Regions from separate parts of the Homo sapiens genome. Here region 2 is linked to region 1. The links are contacts of gene promoters, found by promoter capture Hi-C in blood cells and fetal thymus (Javierre and others, 2016). All regions are on one chromosome and are shown on one strand. Each heading gives the region's core, a stretch centred on a gene start or on the middle of the fragment in contact. The rest is flanking DNA. Distances are from core to core; before and after follow the strand shown. Region 1 holds the start of TLCD4 (TLC domain containing 4). Region 2 overlaps SLC44A3 (solute carrier family 44 member 3).

Region 1 (6,714 bases), core at 2,642-5,141:
CTTTTGTCTCCTCATTAAGCGTACAGACGAAAATCTTACTGCTCTAAAGAAATGTGCTTACATATCCAAGTTCACTCCTTGCACGTTTCCTTTTCCTTAAAGCCAATCATTTTGCTTTGAAGTAAGTAGAACTGGTGGAAAGTCCCCTCTTCTGCATCTGTCCCATCATTTCATCTATGTGAGTTCTGCACCTGTCAGACACAAGATGAGTCTCTACACTGCCTTCTCTCCCACCGACAGGGGTCCAGGTAGTGCTCAATCAATTCTATGCTCCCCACACCTCCTCCAGTATCTCCAATCCCCCTCCGCCCAGCCTGCTCCACTGCAACCTGTTTTTCTACCCATTGGAAAAGTGGTTTCCAAATAGTGGACTGTGATCCACTAACACGTTATGAGTTTTTAAGAACACAGACTAGAAACAGAAATTCAATAGAAATAGAAACTAGTTTCACATACACATATACTTGCTATGCCCTGGGTCTCAGTGTAAAAATGCATTTTGTACTGTTGTAGTCTGAAAATGTTTGAAACACTGCTTTAGACAAGCGTTTGTCCACCTACTCAAACTCCACCCATGATATTGGTCCCGCTGTCTGGGACTCCCTTCCTCCAGTGCTGGCTCAAGCTCTGAACAGCCTTCCACGTGTCTTCTTCGTTGGCTGTTTTCAAAAGCTTTGGCCTTTTACACCAGTTCAGAAGCTCCTTCTTATATATCCATTGCCTTCTCCGTGAACAGACCAATGTTCTGAACAAAGAAACACCTTTTGCTATTCCTGCCTTATCCTGCCTGATCAGGTCTGGGATCTGCTTGCAGCACATCCAACTGTCTCACCAGGAATAACAAGCCTCAGAGCAGTAGGCCTCCATTTCTTTGTGTGCAACCTTTCATCCTCAACAAGAAAAAATACCACTAAAGTCACTCTGGAAATACCTAGACTTTCTTACAAAATTAGCCTTACTTTCCTAATGTAATGTATTCTCTGGTGTAATCCATCCAGCGCCTGATACCAATGCCAGGTGAATACAGCTCATTCCTAATGTTCAGTTAAAGTCTGTTTCCCATCCTTGAGAACAGATGGTGACTCCACCTCCATACTGCTATCTTCTTCTTCTCTCAAGGCAAATGGAAGAAGAAAAAGCACAACAGGGTGACTGCACTAGTTTGGTGGTATCCTTTCCTCTCTCAAGGACGAGGGCACAAGTTGTCCAGCACAACTCCACCCCCAGTCTGGCCCTCCTTTGTCCAAATGCCCATAATTCTCACCCAGACAATTAATTCATTATCTTCCTTAACAGAAAAGCTAGCTTTTCATATCTTAGTGTAGACTGTTCAGTTTACTCTTCTCAGCCAAACTGAGTATCCCAGTTTGAGATATTGAAGCCCAAACAAATCCTTAATCTGTAGGATGTGGGACTAATTTGGAAAGAAGGGTGGGGAGAGACACTGAGGTCTAAAGAGTTTCTTACAAACTAAACTGCCCATTTTCCTCTAATACATGCAAGACCAGCTTTGAGAGAGGAACATGAACGCTGGGCCTCCTTTAGAGCACCAAAGAGGAGAGTAAACAGGTCTGAAAACTGTTAAGACAGCTGTGCTTGACTCTGAGGAGCCAGAAACACTCTCAAAGAGAAAGAGGGAGAAGGGCCCATCAAACCTCAGGTACATTCCCAAACCTGCCTAGAAGCTGTGCCACTTCCCTTTTGAAACCCAGCCCCTTTCCCATTTCTCAATTGGGAATCTAGGGATCCTTTACTTCCTACTAGTTATCTGGTTACAGGGAGGACTCTCCAACACCTACAAAGCCACTACTTCTTTCTCCCCAGTCTTTTGCAGGGAAGGCTCTTAATCAGTCTAACACTCAGATTTCTGATAGCTCCCTGCTCATAAGACTTCCCTTGGCAATCAGATGAATTTACCCAGTGGAGATTTCAGAAAATCAAGGAAAAGACAGGCCAACTCTTGCATCTGTACTCCAGGACCTATTCAGAAGACTCCAGTGAAGACCTAGCTTCCCTGGGGTTTGCATTAGTCTCAGCACCTTGAGCATGCCATTCCTAGTTCACCTCCAAGTATAAAGCATTAGTAGCAAAGACCCATTATTCTTTCCACCAGGGTAAAGAAGGCTTAGAGTGAAATGAATATAAATGGAAATCTAATACTGTAAATAAATAATGACTGATTGGGCAGCTGGGTCAGAGGCATCCAGCCTAAACAGATAAAATTCATCTCAAGGATGAGGACAGTAAAGATTCAAACTCCAGAGGGAGGTAATGGGACAAAAGGAGTTGCAGGCGTAGAAAAAAAAAGAAGCACCCTCAAAATATTCTCTGGGTTATCAGATGGCACAGGAGGGGCGTGGCAAATAAACTAAAATCCATGGTTCTTCACCCATTCTTTCATATTTTCTAACACGGCGGGAATACACTTTTCTAATTTCGTTTCGCCCAATTTAAGGAAAAGATAAGCAAGGATAAAAATTCCTCATATATAGCACAATTAAAAGGGAGCTGGGATTCTCTAACTTATTACCTTAATCGGCTACACAAAGATGAAGCTACATTTCAATCGACACCATGCGCTGGCACGGGAGTAACTCACTTAAAACACCACAATCCAAGGTCAATTTTTCTCAACTCCATTTATGACTGCGTAAAGATTTTATTAAATCTTTTTTCCTATTTCACACATCAATTCCTAGGGTCCACACAAACTCTTCCATCTTCTCCAAACTGGTATTTGGATTAAACATTATCCAAGATCAGTCTTTAAAGTAAATTTCATAATTTCATATAAAAGTGTGCACCACATTAACACTCAAATGTGTGTACAATTAAAAATATACAGACCAGCAACAGCGACTCTTAAATGAATTTAGACTCAAAGTGTTTTCACAGAGGTTTTTCTGCCGTCTTGGAGGGGTAGGAAACTGCTGGCATTACGAATCCCATTTCATGGCTGGGTAAACCGAGGCACTTAGGGGTTACAGAGGTAAAGATGGAAATAGAAACCAATTTCTCCCTCCGACTCTACGCCTGGTCCCTTCCCACTAGACTTTTCAGCACTCAGTGGCTAAAAATGGGACCCACTTGAGAACTGCAAGGGTAAATAAGAGCTACTTGTTTCAGAAGGTGGCGGCGGGGGAGGGGGACTTACCCACTTGATGCGCCCGATTGTGTGTGGGCTCTAACAAGAAAGCTCTCCCTGGATGCCCAAAGGTTTGCACCCACCCGCTTTAAGCTCAGACCCGAGAGGCACCGCCAGGCAGACAGGGCAGCCGGAATCGTGCAGCCCGAGAAACGCGAGAGGAATGCGGGGCGCCCGGGCGGCGCGGGGGCCGCGGGCCCCGGGACACCATTTGCTCCCGGAGCGACGCCGTGGCCCGCCGGGCGGGGACGATGCTGAGCCTTCCGCACACACCTGCCGGAGCCCGCCCGGGAGCCCCGGGCCGCCTCCCGCGCGCCGGACGCCCACCCAGCCTCCAGGCGCAGGAGCTCTCGGCCGCGCTAGGCCAGGGGCGGGAAGCCGCGGCACCCCTCTCCGCGGGCTGCGCTTGGCGGCTGGCGCGGGGGAGCCGCGGGGCGAGGCAAGCCCGCCTTCCTCCCCAACCCCCCCTCCAAACGGCGTCACCTGTGCCGGGTCCCGGGGCGAGTCGCGCGCGGGCGGCGGCTGCGCCGAGCCGGGAGAGGGCGGCGGGTGTCTACAGGAGTCTGCTCATCCGGGCCGGCCCGAGGGCTGGCGCTGGCCAGTGCCGCCCGGTGAGATGCTCACGGGAGCCAGGGAAGCCGCGGGTTCCGGGCCGCTTGGAGGTGCAGTCGCGGAGGCTCCAGCTACCGCGGCGGCCGTCGCGCCCGCCCGGACTGCGGGCTCGGGTTACCGCAGAGCTGCTCCTTAAAGGGGCCGCGGCCGCTCGGGCTCCGGCTCCCGCTCCGGGCGGCTCCGACCCTGGCCAAAGTGGGCGGGGCCCCGAGGCGGGCCGCCGAGCAGACCTTCTTGCCCTGGAACTTGGGTCCCGGAAAGAGCCCAAAAACCCTAACACCCGAAGTCGCAGCGGAGAGATCCTGGAAGCTCACACCTTGCCAAGGGCAGAGGGTGCAATTCCCGGGTTTTCCAAAGCAAGTCACAAAACTTGCCAGCGGGGGAACTGTGTGAGCCCGCCCCCGCAGCGGTCAGTACCTGGGCTAGCCACGTAACAAAAAATCTTCTTAAATTATGAATTTACATTCTGCCTTAAATGCTCAAATACTGGGGACTTCATGGTTAGATCATCAGAAAAGAGATGAAAAGGCAACTGCTGGTTTTTCTTGCCACGTCTGACACGGCCACACTCGAGTCCCGCCAGTTCTTCTTTGGGGCTGCAGGTGCATACCAAACTGGTAGGGGGCGCGTGTAGAAGAAGCGTGTTCTCTCCAGCACCACCTCCAGAATTCCTGAAAAACACCCTCATGGGTGCACCAGCACTACACCTACACCCGGAACCCCTCTGTTGTCGGGGTGTGGAAGTTGGATTTGAATATTTGGTGCTGGCTGAGAATTCCAAGTTGCCTAGTAGATAAAGTTTGACATTAAATAGATGTTCTGACCTGTTATATACAGCCCCAAAAGCCTCCAAGTGATCTGCATCAACCAGAGATAATTGTCTGAAACAAAACAAAATAACAAAGAGGTATACTCATGCATTATAATTCGCAGAGAGCAATCACAAGGCCTTTTCTTGAAAAGAGGTAAGTTCTAAATAAATAATTTGTAAACACTATCATTGATAACAGGATATTTATTTCTAAGAAATGTCAATAGAGCTAACATATTTGATCTACTATATACATGCGCAGAAAGACACACATATCTGCCGCAGATTTAGACCAGAAAATATATACACAAAAGCTCATATAAGCTGTCCATGTTTATTTTCAAGAGAGGGCAATAGAATTTAAATCAGAACCTGGAATTCTGTCAGTTTATTAGAGTTGTGTGCCTTTAGCTAACTGAACCTCACTGAGGCTCAATTTCTTCATCTTTAAAATGGTAATAATAATTCATAGTGACTCTGAAGACCTGGACTGATGTGGAAAAGACAAAATCTATACCACAGAACAGGGAGGGACAGAAACCTGCCCTGCAGTCAAGCAGAGAGAAAGATCTTTCAGGCCCCCAAATGCGTGTTCCCCTTTTTCTCCCCAAGACTCTCAGGATGTACCAGGGCTCCAGTGCTCTTTGAACCACACGGTGTCCCATCATAGTCCCTTCACAATATGTGCAGTACCTGACAACTTTGGTTTGCGCAATAGCTACCTTGTGCACTCACATAGCTATTTCATAACTCTCTGTGGGCAGGATGGTTATATGTGAACATCTGTGAAGTCAGCCCAGAAAATACCAATTTCACAGTGTCCTCTCAAGAGTCTGTATCAACACTACCTCCTACAGAAACTCTCCCATGCTAGTCTCTGGTGGCTGATAGTAGCTCTGTTCTTTCCTGATAAATGCACCATCATTATCTTTGATATGCATAATTCTCTAACACCAACAGCAGTAACCAAAGCCAGGTAAACCCACAGAAATCCACTATACTCTATGTCCCACTATATTCCTTCATATTAGGCCTCTACAAATGCCTCATGAAAACTGCAAGATTGTTTTTGAGATTGTACAGAACATATAAGTTAATATATCAAGGACAAGGCCTGAGCTATGAGAGGAATTCAGTAAATAGTAGTTGAATGTTGCAAGTTTTAAGCTAATTAAAACTCAGTGACCTTAGGAGGTAGAAGAATACATCAACTGTATTTTTTCCTGAAAAATTCAGGGTAGCTTAATCTCTTTAAAAATATCCAGTTCATGGCTGGGTGCAGTGGCTCACGCCTGTAATCCCAGCACTTTGGGAGGCTGAGGCGGGCAGATCACCTGAGGTTGAGAGTTCGAGACCAGCCTGACCAACATGGAGAAACCCTGTCTCTACTAAAAATATAAAAAATTAGCCAGGCATGGTGGTGCTTGCCTATAATCTCAGCTACTCGAGAGGCTGAGGTAGGAAAATCGCTTGAACCTGGGAGGCAGAGGTTGTGTGAGCCGAGCTCACACCATAGCACTCCAGCCTGGGCAATAAGAGCGAAACTCTGTCTCAAAAACAAACATATATATTATATATATATATATATAATGTGTATATATATATATCCAGTTCATTAAATCTGTATTATTAATTGTTTCACCAATATTCCCTTTCCAAGGATACTTTCTCAGAATTCTGTATTTACCATATGAAGTTTTTCTGCATTTTAAATGGGATGTATAAAGACCGAATTGCACTTTTTATATTGTTATTCACTGAAACAGTTCAAGCAAACAGATCAGAGAAATGAAAGTATTTATCCACACTTGAAATGGGCAACAAATACAAAAACTCTTTTTTTTTTTTCTTTGAGACAGAGTCTTGCTCTGTTGCCCAGGCTGGAGTGCAGTGGTGCCATCTCGGATCACTGCAACCTCCGCCTTCCAGTTTCAGATCTCGTGCTTCAGCCTCCCGAATACCTGGGATCACAGGCATGCACCACCATGCTTGGCTAATTTTTGTATTTCTAATAGAGACGGGGTTTCACCATGTTGGCTAGGCCGGTCCCGAACTGCTGACCTCAAGTGATCCACCCACCTCGACTTCCCAAAGTGCTGGGATTACAGGCTACCATGTCCAGCCAAAAACTGTTTTAAATGAAGTA
Region 2 (6,809 bases), core at 1,047-3,546, 280 kb after region 1:
AATTTGCGGCTGAGCTCAAAGATAATAAAAATTCTACTCCAAAATGAGACGCCAGACTCCACCATTCAGGGCATGCCAAAAAAGAGGTGGGAGAAAAGTGGTTAGATTATTCTTAAACCCACATCCATGCTGAGAGCATAAAAGAGTTGGAAGTTGATAAGCAGAGCATTTTTAAAAGTAAACTTTAAATTTCTGAATAATTTTAGAGTTACAAAAAAATTGTAACGATGGTGGAGGGTTCCTCTGTGTATCCTTCACTCACATTCCCCTAATGTAAATGTCTTACATAACCACAGTATATTTGTGAAAATTAAGATTTAACATTGTCACTAAACTACTAACTAAACTACAGCCTTTATTTGGATTTCACCGTAACATCCTTTTTCTATTCCAGGATCTAATTCAGGATAGCACATGGCATTTTATTGTCACGTCTCCTCTTTGGTCATGACAGTTTATGTTTTTTGTAGAGACAGAGTCTTGCTATGTTGCCCAAACTGGTCTTGAACTCCTGAGCTCAAGCCATCCTCCCACCTCTGCCTCTCAAAGTGTTGGGATTACAGGTGTGAGCCACTGTGCCTGGCCTGTGACAAGTTTCTTAGTTTTTCCATGTTTCTCGTGACCTTGACATTTCTGAAGATTCATAGTCAGGTATTTTGTAAAATGTCCCTTAATTTGTAGAATTTCTCTCATGTTTTCTCATGATTAGGCTACAGTCAACAGGTTTTTGGGACAGTGCCACAGAGGTGAAGTGCCTTTCTCATAGAATCCTATCGAGGAACATGACAACACTGGTGAAGTTGACCTTGATCACCTAGTTAAGGTGGTACCTGCCGGGTTTCTCCTTGTAAAGTTGTTATTTTTCTCTTTTCCCTCTCTATCCTTGGAAATGAGTCACTAAGCCTAGCCCACTCTCAAAGGGAGGGAAATTCCACCTCTTGGAGGAAGAAGTAAAGATTTATCCCTTTCACCGGGAGCAGTGGCTCATGCCTGTAATCCTAGCACTTTGGGAGGCCGAGGCGAGTGGATCACTTGAGGTCAGGAGTTTGAGACCAGCCTGGCCAACGTGGTGAAACCCCATCTCTATTAAAAATACAAAAACTAGCCAGGTGTCGTGGTGGGTGCCTGTAATCCCAGCTACTCGGGAGGCTGAGGCAGGAGAATTGCTTGAACCCGGGAGGCACAGGTTGCAGTGAGCTGAGATCGTGCCACTACACTCCAGCCTGGGCAACAGGGCAAGACTGTTTCAAAAAAAAAGAAAAAAAGGATTTATCCCTTCCCCCCATTTATTTATTTATTCAATTATTTATTCATATCAGTATGGCCTCATCAACATTTATTCTTTTCTTTGGGTTATAATCTTAATTGTGTTATTCAATCTATTCCAGCTTTGGCCACTACGAGTCATCTGTGTCCTTTTGACAAGACCCATTCTTTTTCTTTCTTGAGCACTTCCTTACTTTCTGATGCTACAGGATGATGATACCAGACGTAGCTGGTATTTTCCTTATCCAAGTCCTAGAACCTGCCATTTCTCCAAAGAACCCTTGAAGACCAATGATTAGAAACCATGATCTGGGTATTGGGTATGGTGGGGTATTACTGATTCTAGGCCCTATAATCGATTCTAGTATGTAATTTCAGAATTGCTAACCATTATACTGTATTGTTTAGGGAATTTTTAAAAAATGAGAAAAACAATTGTTAACCAGTAGCTATGTGACAAACAAATGTACTATCTGGAGTACAGTGTTTGTATACAGTTCCTTTTGTCTTTAGCTTACAGTATCTAGTCACAAAGCTGTTTTCCAAAGTTACTCACATCAGCTCCTTATTAGTCATTTAATTTGTCACCCTCTACACACTATCCTAAGATCCTGACATCTTGATTTTAATTTTTATTTGCATATAGTAAAATCTACTCTGCACAGGTGATGACAAGTGCAGAGAATCATTAGAAGAGTAATTTTTGAAGAGTTGAAATTTTTTTTTTTTACTAGACTTGTCATGTGACTCCATCCCCATTTTCCTAAGTCAGATGAGAAGGGTTTCATGGAAAACTCAGAGAGCTTAGGGAATCCCCTGGCTTAAGGTCTGAGCCACCCCAAGAAATCTGGAGGGTGAGCGGCTTTAACAGCAGAGCAGAGAGCTACAGCTGGGGAGTTAAGAGCCCCCAGGGCATTTGTCAGGGCAAAGGGTGCAGAGGGCTTCCTGGGGTCTAGTTGTGGGCTGCATGTGCACAAGTCCCAGTGATGGGGTGCCACCGATCGTGTCTAAGACAGCCCTGTAGAAGGCTGTGGGGACCTTGGCAGAAGGAGCTGGAGGTGGCTGCTCTCTGAGGTAGCTAATTAATGCCTCAGGACTGAGGAAAGCCTCTCACATGACCAGCCAGAGCACAGATGCATTAGACTACATGAAAGGCACTGCAGCTGAAAGAGCCCCGAAGAACCCAAAACATGCCCATGAGGGAAAGAGCTGGCCGGGACATCTCCCAAGCCCAGAGAATGCTGGTGCTAGTATCAGACAAGTAAATGTGTTCCTGCTACTATTTTCTTCCTTCACTTTTGCTGCACCAGCCCCTTAGACAAAACCTGTTTCAGCAAGCTGGGAGAGGAGGGCAGGAATAAACAGAGGAGAAGGGAGGCTGACTACAGCCTCCTTCCTGGACTATGGCCTTCCCACTTGCTCCTGGGCCAAGCGTGCAGGGGGCAGAAGTTTGAACCTCCGATCAAGTGAGAAGTTTATCACATTGGGCTGAATATTTTTTAATTTAAAAAAAAAAAGTTGAGACAGGGTCTTGCTCTGTCACCAAGGCTGGAGTGCAGTGGCATGATCACAGCTCACTACAACCTCAAACCCCTGGGCTCAAGAGATCCTCCCATCTCAGCTTCAGCTAGGACTAAAGGCATGTTCCACTATGCCAATCTAATTTTTAAATTTTTGTAGAGACATGGTCTCGTTATGTTGTCCAGGCTGGTCTTGAACTCCTGGCCTCAAGCAATCCTACAGCCCTGGCCTCCCAAAATGTTGGGATTGCAGGCATGAGCCACTGTGCCTGGTCTGGGCTGAACATTTTAATTATTGAATTGAAAGTGTCTGTTGCAACTTAAAGTGACTCAGTATGTATTACCTAAAAGTTACCAGAGAAGCCTTGGGAATTGCCTGTGTTTTTATTCAGGGGCAGAAAAAACTAGTCCCACTGAATAAATTTAAAGAGACAGAGAAAGACAAAAATTAAATTGCTTTCTGACTACATCCTGTAAGTCATGCTTGATGTAATAATGGTTATACAAGCAAATATATACCTAGATATATATATTTATAGGTTTATACTTACATTTTCCACTTTTTATGCAAAAGTATACTGCACACTGTTCTATTATTTGTTTTTTTTTTAACTTAATACACTTCAGAATGTAAGGAATTCCTCTTATTTTTACTGAGGCAATATTTATATACAATGAAATACACTGATCTTAAACATAAAATTAGAGACTTTGATAAACATACACATCTATGTAACTGCTACGCCTTTCGAGATTTAGAGTATTTCATTAGCTGGGGTAGGGATGCATCTTTTTTTTTAGATGGAGTCTTGCTCTTGTCACCCAGGCTGGAGTGCAATGGCGTGGTCTTGGCTCACTGCAACCTCCACCTCCCAGGTTCAAGTTATTCTCCTGCCTCAGCCTCCCCAAGTAGCTGGGATTACAGGCGCCTGCCATCACACCCAGCTAATTTTTGTATTTTTAGTAGAGACGGGCTTTCACCATTGTTGGCCAAGCTGGTCCTGACCTCAGGTGATCTGCCCGCCTCGCCCTTCCAAAGTGCTGGGATTACAGATGTGAGCCACTATGCCCGGCTCACAGGGATGCATCTTTAGGCCATGGCCTGAGGTTTCTTCACCACTTCTGCTTTTCTTCTTCCCATTAGCAAAGCCACTCAAACTTGCAGGAAGTCATTGGGTAAGCTGCCTGTATATTTAGATCACCAGGTATATGGAATTCAGCTGAGCAAACCATGCAGTGACATGCACAGGCACCTATGTGGGAGAGTAGAACTAGAATTTACTGGGGGGAAAATATCCACGCCTTTTAGATTTTGAATACATGAGGGACTCAAAATACATTACCATGTTGAACACCAAAGTGAAAAAAGATCTATTTGCTTGTTATCTTCTGTAGTGCTTTTTCACTGCTCTTAAAAGCTCATACCTAGGTCCACAAATTCCTTGATATTTAGCCATTACTCGAAAAGGGTACGTTATACCTCACATGACCGACAGACGAGGAAGAAACAATCAGTTTAGTCAAAAAGAGGTATTTAGAAAATGTTCTTTGGCCCTATAGCCACCCTTCTCATGTTTTCCAGCTTTTCAGTCTTGGCACTGCTATTCCATGATAAATATGATCATTTTCACCTTAAACAAACACTTGCTTGTGCAGGAAAAGGGAATGGAGCCCTTGAGGCTATTTCTCTCTCTCTTTCTGTCCAAAAAAGGCCACTCAGTCAAGGGTTTTGTCTTTACTTGAAAAGTTAGTATTGGAAACATTTGCATTTAGGGTGAAAAGGACTAGGGCTGGCTTGAGAGTGAGAAGAAATGGTGCTATTATGACACAGGATACGGAGACTCTTTCTCCCAGCTTGATGTGAGTCTAGGAAGGCCACTCACCAGTCAAAATAAAATCAAGTCTTGACTCAAACATAGACGCTGCTTGGGTTTGAATGCCAGCTTTTCCATTTGCTGGATGTATGAACTTAAACCTCTCTGCATCAGTTTTCTCAGTTGTAAGATAGGGATGAAAACAATACCTACAATATAGACGTTTTCTGAGGCCCAAATTATGTTAAGGGTTTAGAAAAGTATCAAAAGCTCAATAAATGTTTGCCATTATCATCATAAGTATCAAGATATAAGCTTCCTGTGGAATTATGGTTGCCATCCCATTTATAGTAAGAAGAGAGTTTATCCAACTCTGGTTAAATTACAACCTTAAAAATTCCATTCTCTTTCAATTCCATCCGTAGTTACATCTACAGTTACAAATTGTGTTCTTAAAAAAGTCCTCCTCTCCAAGTGCTAGAGAATTTTCCTTCCACCTATTACTAAAACATTCTAGTTTTTTTTTAAATTGGGTTCAGTATGTTTCATTAAGATGTGTTTATGATACCTTACATTTTACCAGAATGTAAAATATCATAAACACATTTACAATTACCAGAATTTTAAAAATAAGATATTATAGGCCAGGCGTGGTGGATCATGCCTGTAATCCCAGCACTTTGGGAGGCCGAGGCAGGCGGATCACGAGGTCACGAGATCAAGACCATCCTGGCCAACATGGAGAAACCCCATCTCTACTAAAAATAAAAACATTAGCTGGGTATGGTGGCATGCGCCTGTGGTCCCAGCTACTTGGGAGGCTGAGGCAGGAGAATTGCTTGAACCTGGGAGATGGAGGTTGCAGTGAGCTGAGATCGCACCACTGCACTCCAGCCTGGGTGACAAGAGCAAGACTCTGTCTCAAAAAAAAGAATATTATAGAAAAATGAAATGGGTATTCTCCTCAGCAAATAGTTCTCTCCTCCTTCAATTACTTACAACATGGAGTATTTATTTTAGAAAAGAATATCACAAAATGGCTATTTTCTGCCTCCGATGTGATTTAAACCTTCTCAAGTCTCTTTGTGTTTGTGAGCACCTGCTAGTTCAGCATTTTTCAAGCTTCACTTGCAACCAGTTATAAGACTATGAAATACATTATTTTTAAAAAGGCAACAGAGTAGTAACTAAGAGTGTGAATCATATGTAATAAGGGTAAATGTTGTTTTGTGAGATTTCTAGTTTTGTTTTATATATGTAAGGACATATGAAGGTATGTGCATACAGGAGTTGGGATGTAATAAATTTCTTACTGTAAGTCCCAAACAAGAGTTCAATAAACACCACCCTAGAGGATTGGAATAATGCTTTGTTTTAATTAAATAATCATTATTTCTCAGGGATTTTTCAGAGAGGTCTCCTACATTGTAAACATACTCACATTTTTCAAAAGAATGACAATTCAAAATCAATACAAGTTTTCCTTTAGTACATCTCAGCATCATAATGGTGGCAATAAACACTCATTGTATTTTTCCCCTTAGCCTTCTCAAAGGTGTAAACATGAGCCATTCGCCATGGCAATGCAACCACCGTTCCATCATTACAACTTTATTCTACAAATATTTGTAAGGTGCCTACCATGTGCCAGGTAGTACACTAATTTACAGGGGTGAATAAGACCTTGCAAGGAGCCCACCAAGTGTACTCTTGATAAGGACCTGTGCTTTCTGTTTTCATTAAGAAAGGTGTGGTGATCACTTGGCCTTGTCCATCTGGTCTGTTTCTTATGAAGATATCTAGAGCAATAAAAACTAACAGAGTCTAATTATGATAAAAAGCCAAAAGTAAACGATTTTCTTTTTTTTTTTGAGACAGATTCCCGCTCTGTCACCAGGCTGGAGTGCAGTGTCGCGATCTCGGCTCACTGCAACCTCCACCTTCTGGGTTCAAGTGATTCTTCTGCCTCGGCCTCCCAAGTAGCTGGGACTACAGGCATGCACCACCACACCCGGCTAATTTTTGTATTTTTAGTATATTTTTAGTATACAAAAAAATAGTATATATTTTTGTATATTTAGAGATGGGGATTCACCACGTTGGCCAGGATGGTCTCCATCTCCTGACCTCGTGATCCGCCTGGCTCAGTCTCCCAAAATGCTGGGATTGCAGGTGTGAGCCACCATGCCCGGCCAAAGTAAATGATTTC

Evidence for each region. Contacts are between HindIII fragments. The CHiCAGO score rates a contact against its expected background, and 5 or more counts as called.
Region 2: a contact is called between a fragment that was not itself captured here and the fragment with the promoter of TLCD4 in region 1, in 1 of 17 cell types (activated CD4 T cells). The highest score is 5.9, in activated CD4 T cells.

The regions. Positions count from the first base shown.
Region 1 is chr1:95,114,532-95,121,245 of GRCh38, reverse strand. It overlaps TLCD4 (TLC domain containing 4), which reads right to left and starts at 3,891. Exons shown (of 7, transcript NM_152487.3): 1 at 3,629-3,891. It overlaps TLCD4-RWDD3 (TLCD4-RWDD3 readthrough), which reads right to left and starts at 3,323. Exons shown (of 8, transcript NM_001199691.1): 1 at 3,155-3,323. RefSeq lists silencers at 3,401-3,450, 3,531-3,810, 3,738-3,884 and a cis regulatory region at 5,139-5,666. The HindIII fragment of the contact is 12,433 bases long and covers 675-6,714 here.
Region 2 is chr1:94,828,944-94,835,752 of GRCh38, reverse strand. The region is part of intron 5 of SLC44A3 (solute carrier family 44 member 3); the gene reads right to left. Among named protein-coding and RNA genes, the nearest start is that of SLC44A3, 12 kb to the right of the region's middle. The HindIII fragment of the contact is 5,243 bases long and covers 1-4,917 here.